Linked DNA regions of Homo sapiens: regions 2 and 3 are each linked to region 1. Evidence: promoter capture Hi-C in human tissues and cell types (Jung and others, 2019). All regions are on one chromosome and are shown on one strand. Each heading gives the region's core, a stretch centred on a gene start or on the middle of the fragment in contact. The rest is flanking DNA. Distances are from core to core; before and after follow the strand shown. Region 1 holds the start of NUP37 (nucleoporin 37). Region 2 overlaps LINC02456 (long intergenic non-protein coding RNA 2456). Region 3 has its middle 73 kb from the start of LINC00485.

Region 1 (4,214 bases), core at 1,031-3,530:
TCTAGAATTCATGCTCTTAATGGCTATGCTTAACTGCCTGCTCAATTAATATGACTCCATATTCTGCATACATTAGATGCACAAAAAGTATGACAGCATACTAATAGGAAAGCTGAATATTATAAAAGCTATAAAATCTCCTGGAAGATTGTTTTTTGGGCTCTCAACATTAGCTGGTTTTGTATGTCAAAGCAGGATGTAGAAAAACCGTAATTAATTGGATCTCATTTATATTGTTTTTTTCCTGTACATACCAATGTTCAGTTAATCATAGCCTTCACTTATCAGAATATTCCATTAATGATCATGAGGCAAAAGTGAAGCCTCATACCATTCTTTTTCACTATCTATATAATGTTTACATAAATCTCAGGCACATATAACTGGGAACATCTTTCTCTATGGATCTTATCTTTTTTTTTTTTAACATTCAAACTCAATATACTTTCAAAGTTTAGATTTGGTTTGTGTAAGTTCTCTTAGTAGTGAAATATGTTCACTGTCATTCGGTGCAGTTTTGTAGACTAACCTGAAACGTACACGTGCCAATGACCACATAATTATTGCCACCATATGCAATTAGGTTTCCTGAATCCCCATTCTCAAAGGGATTAAATTCTACCACATGCACATAATCTTCACAATCCACAGTGTAGGCAGCATTTCTTGAGGCATCTTGCTTCATCTTGTATGTCAAAATTCAAGCAGTTGTGAAAATTAAATAGCCTTCTACTGGACAAGGTCACGAAACTGTGGATTAGAGCACAGGTACAATTACAATGGTCAATATGTTAGTCATTCAGCAAATGCATCAAAATAAGGTTGTGGTGTTACAATGAGACAGAAAGCTCAAAAGAAACATTTAAAGTACTTATCAAGGGACAGAAACTGCAGGAAAAATATTAAATCTAGTTATTAATGGTTCCACATTTGCTCCACAGCTCTTTCCCATATCTGTGATTCTAGCAGACAATAACACTGCAAAGTTCTGTTTAGATTATCTAAAACAAATAGTATTTCATCTGAAGATGGAATCATTTTAACAGCAAATGTTAATAAAAATTAATAACTTTTATGAACCACTATTTGTAGGTACCATATTAAGCATTTTACTGACATGATCACATCTGGTATCTGTACAAATCTAAAGGCAGGTACTACCTCTGGTCTCCATTTTGTAGATGGAGAAACTGAGGCTTCAGTAGGTTAACTAACTTGCCAAGCTCATAAGCAGGGCCAGGATTTGGAAGACTTCATTGTGTGTGGAGAACCAGCGCTAATGAAGAAAAAAACAGCCTCCTGGCTTGAAGGAGACCACAGTTTAGGGATAGTTATGACTCAACGTGAAAAGGGCTATAATATAAACAGATAGAAAATACAGGATCTGTTGTTAAGGAGTACCAAAATGTGTGATATAAAAATAATGTTCAGGGGGTTGGGCGGAGGGAGAGCATCAGGATAAATAGCTAATGCATGTGGAGCTTAATACCTAGGTGATGGGTGTGCAAACCACCATAGCACACGTTTTACCTTTGTAATAAACCTGCACGTCCCGCACACGTATCCCGGAACTTAAAAATTAAAATAATAATATTCTTAAAACTAGGCAGAAGACCTTAACCTGTCAGGGACTAGTGTGCATTCTGGAAGTAGCATTCCCACATGAGAATTATGGGTTTTAGAGTTTTTGGTTTTTTAAAAAATTCGACACAAGGGTTGTCCTGAAAACAGCTGGACTCAGTAACAAACATATCAAGCACCTTAAGAGTATGTACTGAGAATGAGTCCCACCTCGAGACGCTTATAAACTAGTAACTTTAGGAATGGACATCAGGGACTGGAGACTTTTGAAGGGTGACCAGCAAGTGTTATGGACACGGAGACAGAGAGGTATAGAAGTGCAAGAGATTCGAGGTCACGAAATTGTTCCGTCCCTACACCTACTGCTCATTAAAGCAGTGGCCGGGGCCTCACCGTACACGTTGGACAGGACTTGCCCCTGTAAAACTACAACGGCAGAGAAGAAGGGAGGGAACAAGATAAGTCTCTGCAATGAGCGCCGACACCTCTCCCCGGGCCAGGCGAGTTCCTCAAGACCCCGCTCCCACCTCCCGGGGCCCGAAGTGGGAAGGAAGAACTCCTGGGAATAGAGTGGCAAGGCTGGGCGGCCGGCAGAAAAGCATCCCGGCCTCTCGGGCTCCCAGCTCGATACGCACCGCAGAGCGCCAGGAACCGACCAGAGGCAGGCTGGTCTTCCTTGGGGGCTGCCGCGACGCGCTGTGGCTCTGCTTCCGGGTCGGAGGGCGAGCGCAGCGATTGGCTCCCGGGGCCTCCCGCGAGGTTTGAACTGTATTCAGCGGCGACAGCGGCGACTGCGGCGGCCGCGGGAGGGCATCCCGTTGGGGATCCTTCCGCACACTGAAGAGTACGTCTTCGGGTCTACCCCTAATCACGTAAGTCTCGCGTCTGCCCTACCTGCCCTGTCGCATTTTTAAGTGGTGATTCAGGCTGTGGCTTTTGAGGGTGTTTTGCACTGTAATACCTCGGTCGTAGCAAAGTGCCGTGGGACCGAAGTATTATGGTGCAGTGACTTGACGCTCGAGCCTGGTTGGGCCTGGGGGCTGTAGGCGGAGTTCACAGTATCTAGCGATGGAGCTGGTAGGTCCTGAGGGTTCGTCTGCAGCTTGGAAGACAGGCCCGTAGAGGCCTGCTTAACTTCCATTAGTTAGGCAGGAAACCTGGGTTCTAGTCCCACTATGTACACGGACTCCAATTCCTCAACTTTCTCCTACTCCTGATTAGTTACAGCCTCCCAAGGAACCTTTGGGACTTGCACTCGAACACTGATAATGATGTTGAGTGCAATTTTTAAATTGAGCACCTACTAAATGCCTGGCACTAGGTGGGTTATGTACTTGTTTCACTAACGTCTCATTCTGTGAGGTAGGAATTCCCTTCCTGGTTTTGCAGGTGAAGAAACTTATGCTCATTAGAGATTTTAAATACCGAAGGACTACAGGTCATAAAGGGGGAGCCTGGAAGTGATATCTGACTCGGAAGTGTAGTTCTTTCAACCATTTCACACTGCCTGCCCAGTGACAATTTTCTGTCTCACAGTTTTTGCTCTAGAGCAACTTGGAATCCAATTTTTTAAAAACAAGTGTTATCGCTGCTGCCTTTGGCTACTGTTTTTTTGTATAGTGCAGCCTGCCATTCAGAGTGCTTGCATATTTATTGTCTCATTGACTTCTCACAAGGGACTGGAAGGCAAGTATTTCTGTGTGATGATGCCTCCACCTAGGAACCACGTGTAAGGCTTATGGCATAGGCTCCCACAGCCAGCTAGCTACAGGAAGAGCTGGGACTAGACCAGGGGTTGGCAAACTGGCTGTGCTGCCTGTTTTTGTGCAGCCAGCTCCTGAGCTAAGAAGGAGTGTTACGTGTTTATATGGTTGGGGGAAAAAATGAAAAGAATAATGTTTTGTGATGTGTAAAAATTACATGAAATTCAAATTTCAGTGTCCATAAAAAAAGTTTTATTGGAGCACAGCTATACTCATTTGTTTGTTTATGTATGTCCATGGCTATTTTCACACTAGAAGGTCAAAGTGAGTAGTTGTGCATGCCTCAAATATTTACTGTTTGTTCCTTTAGAAAAAATTAGCTGATCCCTGAATGAGACTCTTGGTTTTCTGTCACCATAGTAATGCTCTTTTTTTTTTTTTTTTTTTTTTTTTTAAGACAGAGTCTCACTCTGTCACCTAGGCTGGAGTGCAGTAGTGCTATCTTGGCTCACTGCAACTTCCGCCTCCCTGGTTCAAGCGATTCTCCTGTCTCAGCCTCCCAAGTAGCTGGGGTTAGAGGCACACACCACCACACCCAGCTAATTTTTAGTAGACAGGGTTTCACCATGTTGGCCAGGTTGGTCTCGAACTCCTAACCTTAGGTGAGCCTCGGCTTCCCAAAGTGCTGGGATTACAAGTGTGAACCACCATGCCCAGGCAATGCTCTTTTACTTTTAACTCAAAACAACTTAGAAACTCATAATGCATGATAATAGCTAATGTGCTTTTATACATGCCAGGCACTGTTCTAAAAGCTTTACTTGTGTTTATGTCGTTGACTTGTCATAAAACCCTATGGGATAGGGTTTTCATTTTCATTATGAGGAAGCTGAGGCAGGGAAAGGTGATGTAACTTGGCCAAGATCTCGC
Region 2 (4,269 bases), core at 1,149-3,648, 580 kb after region 1:
ACAGAAAATCAACAAAGAAATATCAGACTTAATCTGTGCCATAGACCAAATGAATCTAATAGATATTTACAGAACATTTCATCCAATGGCTGCAGAATATATATTCTTTTCCTAACACTTAAATCATTCTCAAGGATAGCCCACATGTTGAGTCACAAAACAATTCTTAAATTATTCAAAAAATTAAAATAATATCAAGCATTTCTCTGATGACAATGAAACAAAACCAGAAATTAATAACGAGAAGAATTTTGGAAACGATACAAATACAAGCATAAACTATATGCTCCTGAATGACCAGTGGGTCAATGAAGAAATTAAAAAAGAAATTGAAAAATTCCTTGAAACAAATAATCAAAACACAACATACAAAAACCTATGGGAGACAGCAAAAGCAGTACTAAGAGGGAAGTTTAGAGCTATAAGTGCCTACATGAAAAAAGAAGAAAAACTTCAAATAATAATAAAAAAAAACTAACAATTCATCTTAAGGAACTAGAAAAGGAAGAGTAAACCAAACCTAATCTTGTGTTGTTTAGAATAAAACAAATAGTAAAGATCATAGCAGAAACAAATAAAATTGAAATGGAAACAACACAGAAGATCAATGAAACAAAAAGTTGTGTTTTTGAAAGGTTAAACAAAATTGACAAACCTTTAGCCAGACTAATTAAGAAAAAAAGAGAGAACATCCAGATAAATAAATTCAGAGATGAAAGAGGAGACATTACAATGAATACTGCAGAAACTCAAAGGATCATCAGTAGCAATGAGCAACTATGTGCCAACAAATTGGAAAATCTGGAAGAAATGGACAGATTCCTAGACACATATAACCTACCAACATTGAACCATGAAGAAATAAAAAAACCTGAACAGACCAATAACAAGTAATGAGACCTAAGCCATAATGAAAAGTCTCCCATAAAGAAAAGCCCAGGACCCAAGGCCTTCACTGCTGAATTCTACCAAACATTTAAAGAAGAACTAATACCAATCCTACTCAAACTATTCCAAAAAATAGAGAAGGAGGGAATACTTCCAAACTCATTCTGTGAGGCCAGTATTACCCTGATGCCAAAACCAGACAAAGACACATCGAAAAAAAGAAACCTGCAGGCCAGTATCTATGATGAATATTGATACAAAAATCCTCAACAAAATACCAGCAAACTAATTCAACAATACATTAAAAAGATCATTCATTATGACCAAGTGGGATTTATCCCTGGGATGCAAGGATGGTTCCACATATGCAAATCAATCAGTGTGATACATCTTACCAATAGAATGAAGGACAAAAACCATATGATCATTTCAATTGATGCTGAAAAAGCATTTGATACAATTAACCTCCCTTCATGATAAAAACCCTCAAAAAAATTAGGTATAGAAGGAATATACTTCAACATAATAAAAGGCATATATGATACACCCACAGCTAGTATCATACTGAGTGGGGAAAACCTGAAAGGCTTTCCTGTAAGATCTGGAACACAACAAGAATGCCCAGTTTCACCACTGTTATTCAACACAGTACTGGAAGTCCTAGCTGGAACAATCAGACGAGAAATAAATAAAGGGCATCCAAATTAGAAAAGAAGAACTCAATTTATCTTTGTTTGCAGATGATATTATGTTATATTTGGAGAAATGTGGGGACTACAAAAAACTATTAGAACTGATAAACAAATTTAGTAAAGTTGCAGGATACAAAATCAACATACAAAAATTAGTAGCATTTCTATATGTCAACAGTGAACAATCTTGGAAAAGAAATTTTAAAAGTATCCCATTAACATTAGGCACAGATAAAATTAAATACCTAGGAATCAACTTAACCAAAGTGAAAAGATCTCTATAATGAAAACTATAAAATACTGATGAAAGAAATTGAAGAGGAAACCCCAAAATGGAAAAATACTCCATGTTCATGGATTGGAAGAATGATTATTGTGAAGATGTTCATACTACCCAAACCAATTAATTCCTATCAAAATACCAATGACATTCTTTATAGAAATAGAAAAAAAAATCCTAAAATTTATATGGAACCAAAAAAGACTCAGAACAGCCTAAGCTATCCTAAGCAAAAAGAACAAAACTGGAGGAATTACATTACCTGACTTCAAATTATCTTCCAGAGTTATAGTAACAAAAATAGTATGGTACTGACATAAAAACAGACACAGAGACCAATGAAACAGAATAGAGAAACAAAGCCACACACCTACTGAACTCATTTCAACAAAGGTGCAAAGAACATACACTGGGGAAAAGACAGGCTCTTCAAGAAATGGTGCTGAGAAAACTGGATATCCATATGCAGAAGAATGAAACTAGACCCCTAGCCCTCACCATGTACAAAAATTAAATCAGGATGGATTAAAGATTTAAATCTATGACCTCAAACTATGAAACTACTAAAGGAAAACATTGAAGAAACTCTCTAGGGCACTGGCCTGAGCAAAAATTTATTGAGTAATGCCCTACAAGCACAGGCAACCAAAGCAAAAATGGACAAATGGAATCACACCAAGTTAAACTGCTTCTGCACAGCAAAGGAAACAGTCAATAAAGTGAAGAGACAACCAAAAGAATGGGAGAAAACATTTGCAAACTCTACATCTGACAAGGGATTAATAACCAGAATATATAAGGAACTCAATTTATAGGAAAAAAGTCTAATAATCTGATAAAAAATGGGCAAAGTATTTGAATAGATATTTCTCAAAAGAAGACATACAAATAGCAAACAGGCATATAAAAAGGTGTTCAATATCATTGATTATCAGAGAAATGCTCATCAAAACTACAATGAGATATCATCTCTTCCCAGTTAAAATGGCTTGAATCCAAAAGACAGGCAATAACAAATTCTAGTAAGAATGTGGAGAAAAGGAATCCTCATACACTGTTGGTGGGAATGTAAATTGGTAGAATCACTATGGAGAACAGTTTGGAGGTCCCTCAAAAAACTAAAAATACCATATGTACAAGCAATCCCACTGCTGGGTGTATACCTCAAAGAAAGGAAATTAGTATGTAAAACAGATATTTGCACTCCTGTGTTTGTTGCAACATTGTTCACAATAGCCAAGATTTGGAAGCAACCTACGTGTCCATCAACAGATGAATGGATAAAGAAATGTGATACTTACATACTATTCAGCCATAAAAAGAATGAGATCCTGTCATTTGCAACAACATGGATGGAACTGGAGGCTATTCTGTTAAGTGAAATAAGCCAAGCACAGAAAGACAAACGTCAGAAGTTCTCACTCATTTGTGGAACCTAAAAATCAAAACAACTGAACTAACAGAGTTAGAGAGTAGAAGGAAGGTTACCAAGTCCTGGGAAGGGAAGTGGGTTGTTAAGGGGGTGGTGGGAATGGTTAATGGGTCCAAAATATAGATTGAATAAGATCTAGCATTTGATAGCACAACAGGGTGACTATAGTCAATAATAATTTAATTGTACATTCAAAAATAACCAAAGGAGTATAATTGAATTTTTTTGTAACACAAAGGATAAATGCTTGCAGTGATAGATACCCCATTTTCCATGATGTAATTATTATGTGTTGCACACTTGTATCAAAACATCTCATGTACCCTATAAATATATACACCTATTATGTACCCATAAAAATTAAAAAAACATTTTGAGAGTGATTATGCCTTTTTATTGAAATAATTAAGTGAAAATAGGAAACAAAGATCTGAATGTCATCTACACAGAAGCTCCTGGGACAAGATATTATGAAATTTGTACTCCTTCTAAAACAAAAAAACAAACAAATAAGCAAAACCCAAAATGGTCAACGCTTTGTAATAGTGAGACATTTGAGACACTAAGCACAAAGTCTCCTATACTCTTTCTAAACACCCAACCCTCTTTGCCTACATTGCACCCATGAGAGGATTTGGGGAAGGACAAATAGCAGAAGGTGCTATAATTGGCTATAGAACTTTAAGAGGGGCCTCTTCTAGACCTTCACAAGTTTTTTCATTACCCTACACATCCAGAAGAAAAGCTTTTTTTTTTTTTTTTAAACTCAGCCAGCTACTTGAATGTTGGATCTTCAAATTAAATAAAAATATATATTTAAAAACACCCTCAATAACTAACAAAAAAAATCACTTGGTTATTTGATACATGGACCATGTCTCAATAACTTGTTTATTTCTCCCACAGGATTAAATCTGAGTACATAGTGAATGACCAATCAATCCTCATAGTTTGATTATAGATTATTGACTTACATT
Region 3 (4,469 bases), core at 317-2,816, 630 kb after region 1:
GATCCCCACATGATTTGTATGTACATTAAAGGTTGAGAAGCACTGGTCTACACCACAACACACACACACACACATACACACACACACACACACACACACACACACACACACACACAATAGCAGCAGCAAGTTCTGAGGGAAGAAGTAAGTACAGAGATAAAAATTTGGAGTGCAGTCTGTGCTCAAAGAAGGAAGGCCTGTTCTGTAGCCACTGCATTGCTGAGAACTAAGAAGTGAGTAGGTAATGGACACAGTGTGGAGTACTGGATCTTTTACTGGTGACAGCAGCATTTCTACCTTAGCACAATAAACACTTTGGTTCAACCAAAGGGGTTGTTTCTCAAGCATGCATTTGGGGCTTAAGCTTCCATTGGGGTGGACAGCTTGCCGTGGTTTACCCAGGACTTTCCTGTAAGTCCTGCATCCTGAGAAAATCTTCTATTCTGAAAAAACCATGACGGTTGGTTATCCTAGCATCTATCTCTTTTCCTAAAGGGGCAAATAATAAAATTACCTTAGACTTAGATTCTGGAGATCTGAGTTCAGCTTCCAGGATCATCACCTATTATTGCTATTATCATACATGAGCCACTTAAACTTCTCTTTTTCTTATCTGCATAATGAAGCTAATACCAAGCTCCTTTGGTAGCTGAAGAATAAATTAAAAGCTATAGATGTTAAGATCATCAAGACAGGGATGATTTATATTCTATCTTCGTAGCCCTGAATGAAAGTTTGTGAATGCACTTTGTGAACTATGACATAATCTTGTATCCAAGATGTTGCCAGTGTTATAAGAATGTATCTCTCTTGAATACCTCTCTGTCAAATTCTATACAGTCTGTACTGCTCTGATGAATCCTAGTCTCCTCAGAGAAGTCTCCTAACTCACTCCAGCTATAGTGGCTTCTCTCACTTTTGAAGAATCACTTGAAGAAAATTGTTCAGCATTACAAGTTTGTGTTTTGGCCAGGCACGGTGGCTCATGCCTATGATCCCAGCACTTTGGGAGGCTGAGGCAGGAGGATCACTTAAGCCCAGGAGTTTGAGACCAGCCTGGGCAACATAGTGAGATCTCACCTCTATAAAAAAATACAAAAATTAGCCCAGCATGGTGGCATGTGCCTGTAGTCCCAGCTACTCAAAGGCTGAGTTAGGAGAATCACCTGAGCCCAGGAAGTTGAGGCTGCAGTGAGCATGATGGCACCACTGCACTCCAGCCTGGGCATCAGAGTGAGAACTTGTCCACAAAAAAAAAAAAAAAAAAAAAAAAAAAAAAAAGGTCTGTGTTCTGGAGACTTGGCTTCACCACTTAATATTCAAGTGACTTTGGACAAGTTACTTAACCTTGTGAAGTTCAATTGTTTCAGTGGTAAAATGGGAGCAATCATAATAGTACCTGTCTAATTTATAGTTGGGTGTATGGAATAAGATAGTTAAATCTATGCGTACCATAAACTAAAGGCTTAGATATGTTAGTTGCTCTGCTCTGAAATATATTTAATGCTTACTTTCTTAGAATCCTAATTCTTATAGGACCTGCAACTTGGGGATGGAGTCTCTTGTAATAATAATCTTTTTTCAACTTTTTATGTGTTTACTTTGTTCCTAGATTGTAAACACTTTCAGGTTAATAATAATGATATTATCGGCCATGCAGTGGTTCATGCCTGTAATCCCAGCACTTTGGGAGGGTGAGACAGGTGGATTGCTTGAGGTCAGGAGTTCAAGACCAGCCTGGCCAACATGGCAAAACCCTGTCTTTCCTAAAAATAAAAATAAAAAAAATTAGCTGGGTGTGGTGGCCGGTGCCTGTAATCCCAGCTACTCCGGAGGCTGAGGCAGGAGAGTCACTTGAACCTGGGAGCTGTAGTGAGCTGAGATCATGCCGCTGTACTCCAGCCTGGGTGACATAGCAAGACTCCGTCTCAAAATAAAATAATAGTAATAATAACAATAATATCTAGACCACCTCCTCTGAGACCAGCAGCTGTAATAGCATTTTGAGCACTTGTCGTGTGCCAGGCACTATGTAAAGCAAATTGCCATCAGTGAGTGAGCACCTATTGTGAAGCAGGTACTTTACTTAGGTTACCTCATTAACTTTTAAGACATCCCCATGTGGTAGAAATTATTAGCCCCATTTTGCCGATGACTTTTGATGATATGGAAATTAAGTAACTTTCCTGTCAGCCACACAGCTGGGACTCAAACTAAAGACCATTTTATTCCGAAGCTCATGCCAGCCACACAACTGAGATTCAAACTAATGACTGTCTGATTCCAAAGCTCATGCCATTTCTATGTTGCTCAGGGATCCCCAGACCATCTAGTAGTTCTCTGCAAACACATAATAAAGTAGTGCTTCTCAAATGTTAATATAGATATTAATCACCTGGAGATCTTGATGAACTTCAGATGCTGGTTCAGTAAATCTGGAATGGACCCGAGGTTCTGCCTTTTTAGCAAGTTTCCAGGTGGTACTGATGCTGCGGTCCAGGGACCACACTTTGAGTAGCAAGGCTGCATTATTTACTTTCCAATGGGTTGGTTCATAGGTGAAGTCTCTAGGATCTGCATCTTCTGCAGTTCTTGGGGCTAGGTCTAGGGAAGGTGTGAGAGTGGCAGGAGGAGGATATTTGGTGGAACTGAGTAAGTAACCAGTCATATTAAGAACCCAGTTCTTAACTGGGGTGGTCATAATTTGGGACTACTTTTATCTATTTCTCTTAAATTCTGTGGCATTGGATATTCATCAGATATCCCCAATGATCACAATCACCTGGCGTATTTGTAAACCAAAACACTTCCAAGGACTCTCTCCCGGGATGGGGCCTAGTAATTTGTAATTTTACAAGTACTTCAGAAAAGTCTGAAAAACACTGAAAGTGCTATAGAAATTGCAAAGAGCAGGCAATAAATGAGGGGTGATGTAATCAAAGAAGGCTTGGCTGGTAGGGGTCGGGAGGTTGCAGGGGGCCTGGTTAGGGGATGGAGCTCAGCCCTGCAGAATGAGAGAGTTCTAAAAGGGCAAAAGACGGTGGGAAGAGTGCTGGGTGGTGGTGGGGCACATAAACAAGGGTATGAAGATTGGTTCTGCATTTTTTCAGATTCAGTTTAAGGCCTACTGGATTTTGTTTGAAATGCTGTATAAACATCGTGTACATGGGTACATTAAAAATATTATAATAAAAGATTTTAAAAATATTGGTTATATACTCGAGTGACACCAAAGTCACATGCAACCAGAAGTTTGCATAGTATAATAAACCTTAAAAATTGCTGTGTTTCCAACTGCTGGATGAAAACATACATCGGAATGGCTAAAGTTAAAAAGCCCAATGATACAAGAGCTGGTGAAAACGCAAAACCCAATAGGAATTCTCACTCATTGGTATAAATTGGTACAACCACTTTGGACAATTCTTTTATGGTGCCTATCCACGCTGAAATATGCCTTTCCTATGACCCAAGAATTTTACTTCTAGATATAAATCAAACAGAAATTCCTACATTTCTAAGAACACCTAAAGTCTGAACAAGAATTTCATGGCAGCATTATGTATAATGGCCCCAAGCTGAAAATAAATTAGATTTTCTTCAATAGTAGAATAAAAATATAATATTTCATCATAAGAATATAGCACATTCTTATGATAAAATATTATATTGTAGTAAAATTGATTATTGCAAAAAGTAGATACAGAAAGTATATTCAATAGGTTTCATTTTATATGAAGTTGAAAAACAGATAAAACCAAACTATGGTGTTAGAAACCAAGATATGGCTATCTTTGGGGAATTGGAGGGGGCAAAAACCTAGGAGTGGCATGGTAGGGGGGCTTATGGAGTACTGATAATATTCTATTTCTTAACCTGGGTGGTGGTTATATGAATATGTTCATTTTAAGATAATTTATTCATCCGTACACTTAACAAATGTGTTTTTTCTATTAAAATATCCTATTTCAAGAAAACACATGGGCAGGCACACATGTATGCACATGCAGGCATACACACACACACACACACACACACACACACACACACAAACACATGGCATTTTAAAAAGAAGGGAGAAGACCCCACTCACAGGAATTTCTATGCTAGGTTTGCACTGGCTCTATTTCTCAAAACTCATCTCTGGGACAAAACATTCAACTGACATTTGAGGATTTCTTTTCTCCCCCAATCATGTGGTATAATGTTTGGCAAATGGAAATGACACTGGTTCTTCCCAAACCATGTATTTCTGTAAGAAACAGCCCATGGGCCACATTCATCTTCCCCTTGGAGAGGTATTTAAGCATCACTCAACCCTGTGGAGTAGGCTTATTCTTGATTGGGAGAAACAGCCAACACTCATTGCCTCTGGAAACTTGCCCTGAACATTGAGTATCATGGAGATTTCTCAACAAAGCATGGTCAATCTTGTGAATAACTTGGTGAACTTGGTGATCACATGTTTC

The links. The method cuts DNA at HindIII sites, captures the fragments that hold promoters and counts their contacts. A contact is called where the count stands out against the background at its distance.
Region 2: a contact is called between a fragment that was not itself captured here and the fragment with the promoter of NUP37 in region 1, in 1 of the 25 tissues and cell types used here (dorsolateral prefrontal cortex).
Region 3: a contact is called between a fragment that was not itself captured here and the fragment with the promoter of NUP37 in region 1, in 1 of the 25 tissues and cell types used here (lymphoblastoid cells).

Annotation. Positions count from the first base shown.
Region 1 is chr12:102,117,834-102,122,047 of GRCh38, forward strand. NUP37 (nucleoporin 37) reads right to left here and starts at 2,281. Exons shown (of 10, transcript NM_024057.4): 1 at 2,217-2,281; 2 at 530-750. The coding sequence starts at 685. PARPBP (PARP1 binding protein) reads left to right here and starts at 2,350. Exons shown (of 11, transcript NM_017915.5): 1 at 2,350-2,453. RefSeq lists enhancers at 2,082-2,151, 3,196-3,753. The HindIII fragment of the contact is 7,473 bases long and covers 1-4,214 here.
Region 2 is chr12:102,697,688-102,701,956 of GRCh38, forward strand. All of the region lies in intron 12 of LINC02456 (long intergenic non-protein coding RNA 2456), which reads left to right. Among named protein-coding and RNA genes, the nearest start is that of LINC00485, 120 kb to the right of the region's middle. The HindIII fragment of the contact is 7,471 bases long and covers 1-4,269 here.
Region 3 is chr12:102,749,567-102,754,035 of GRCh38, forward strand. No RefSeq gene overlaps it. Among named protein-coding and RNA genes, the nearest start is that of LINC00485, 73 kb to the right of the region's middle. The HindIII fragment of the contact is 3,013 bases long and covers 61-3,073 here.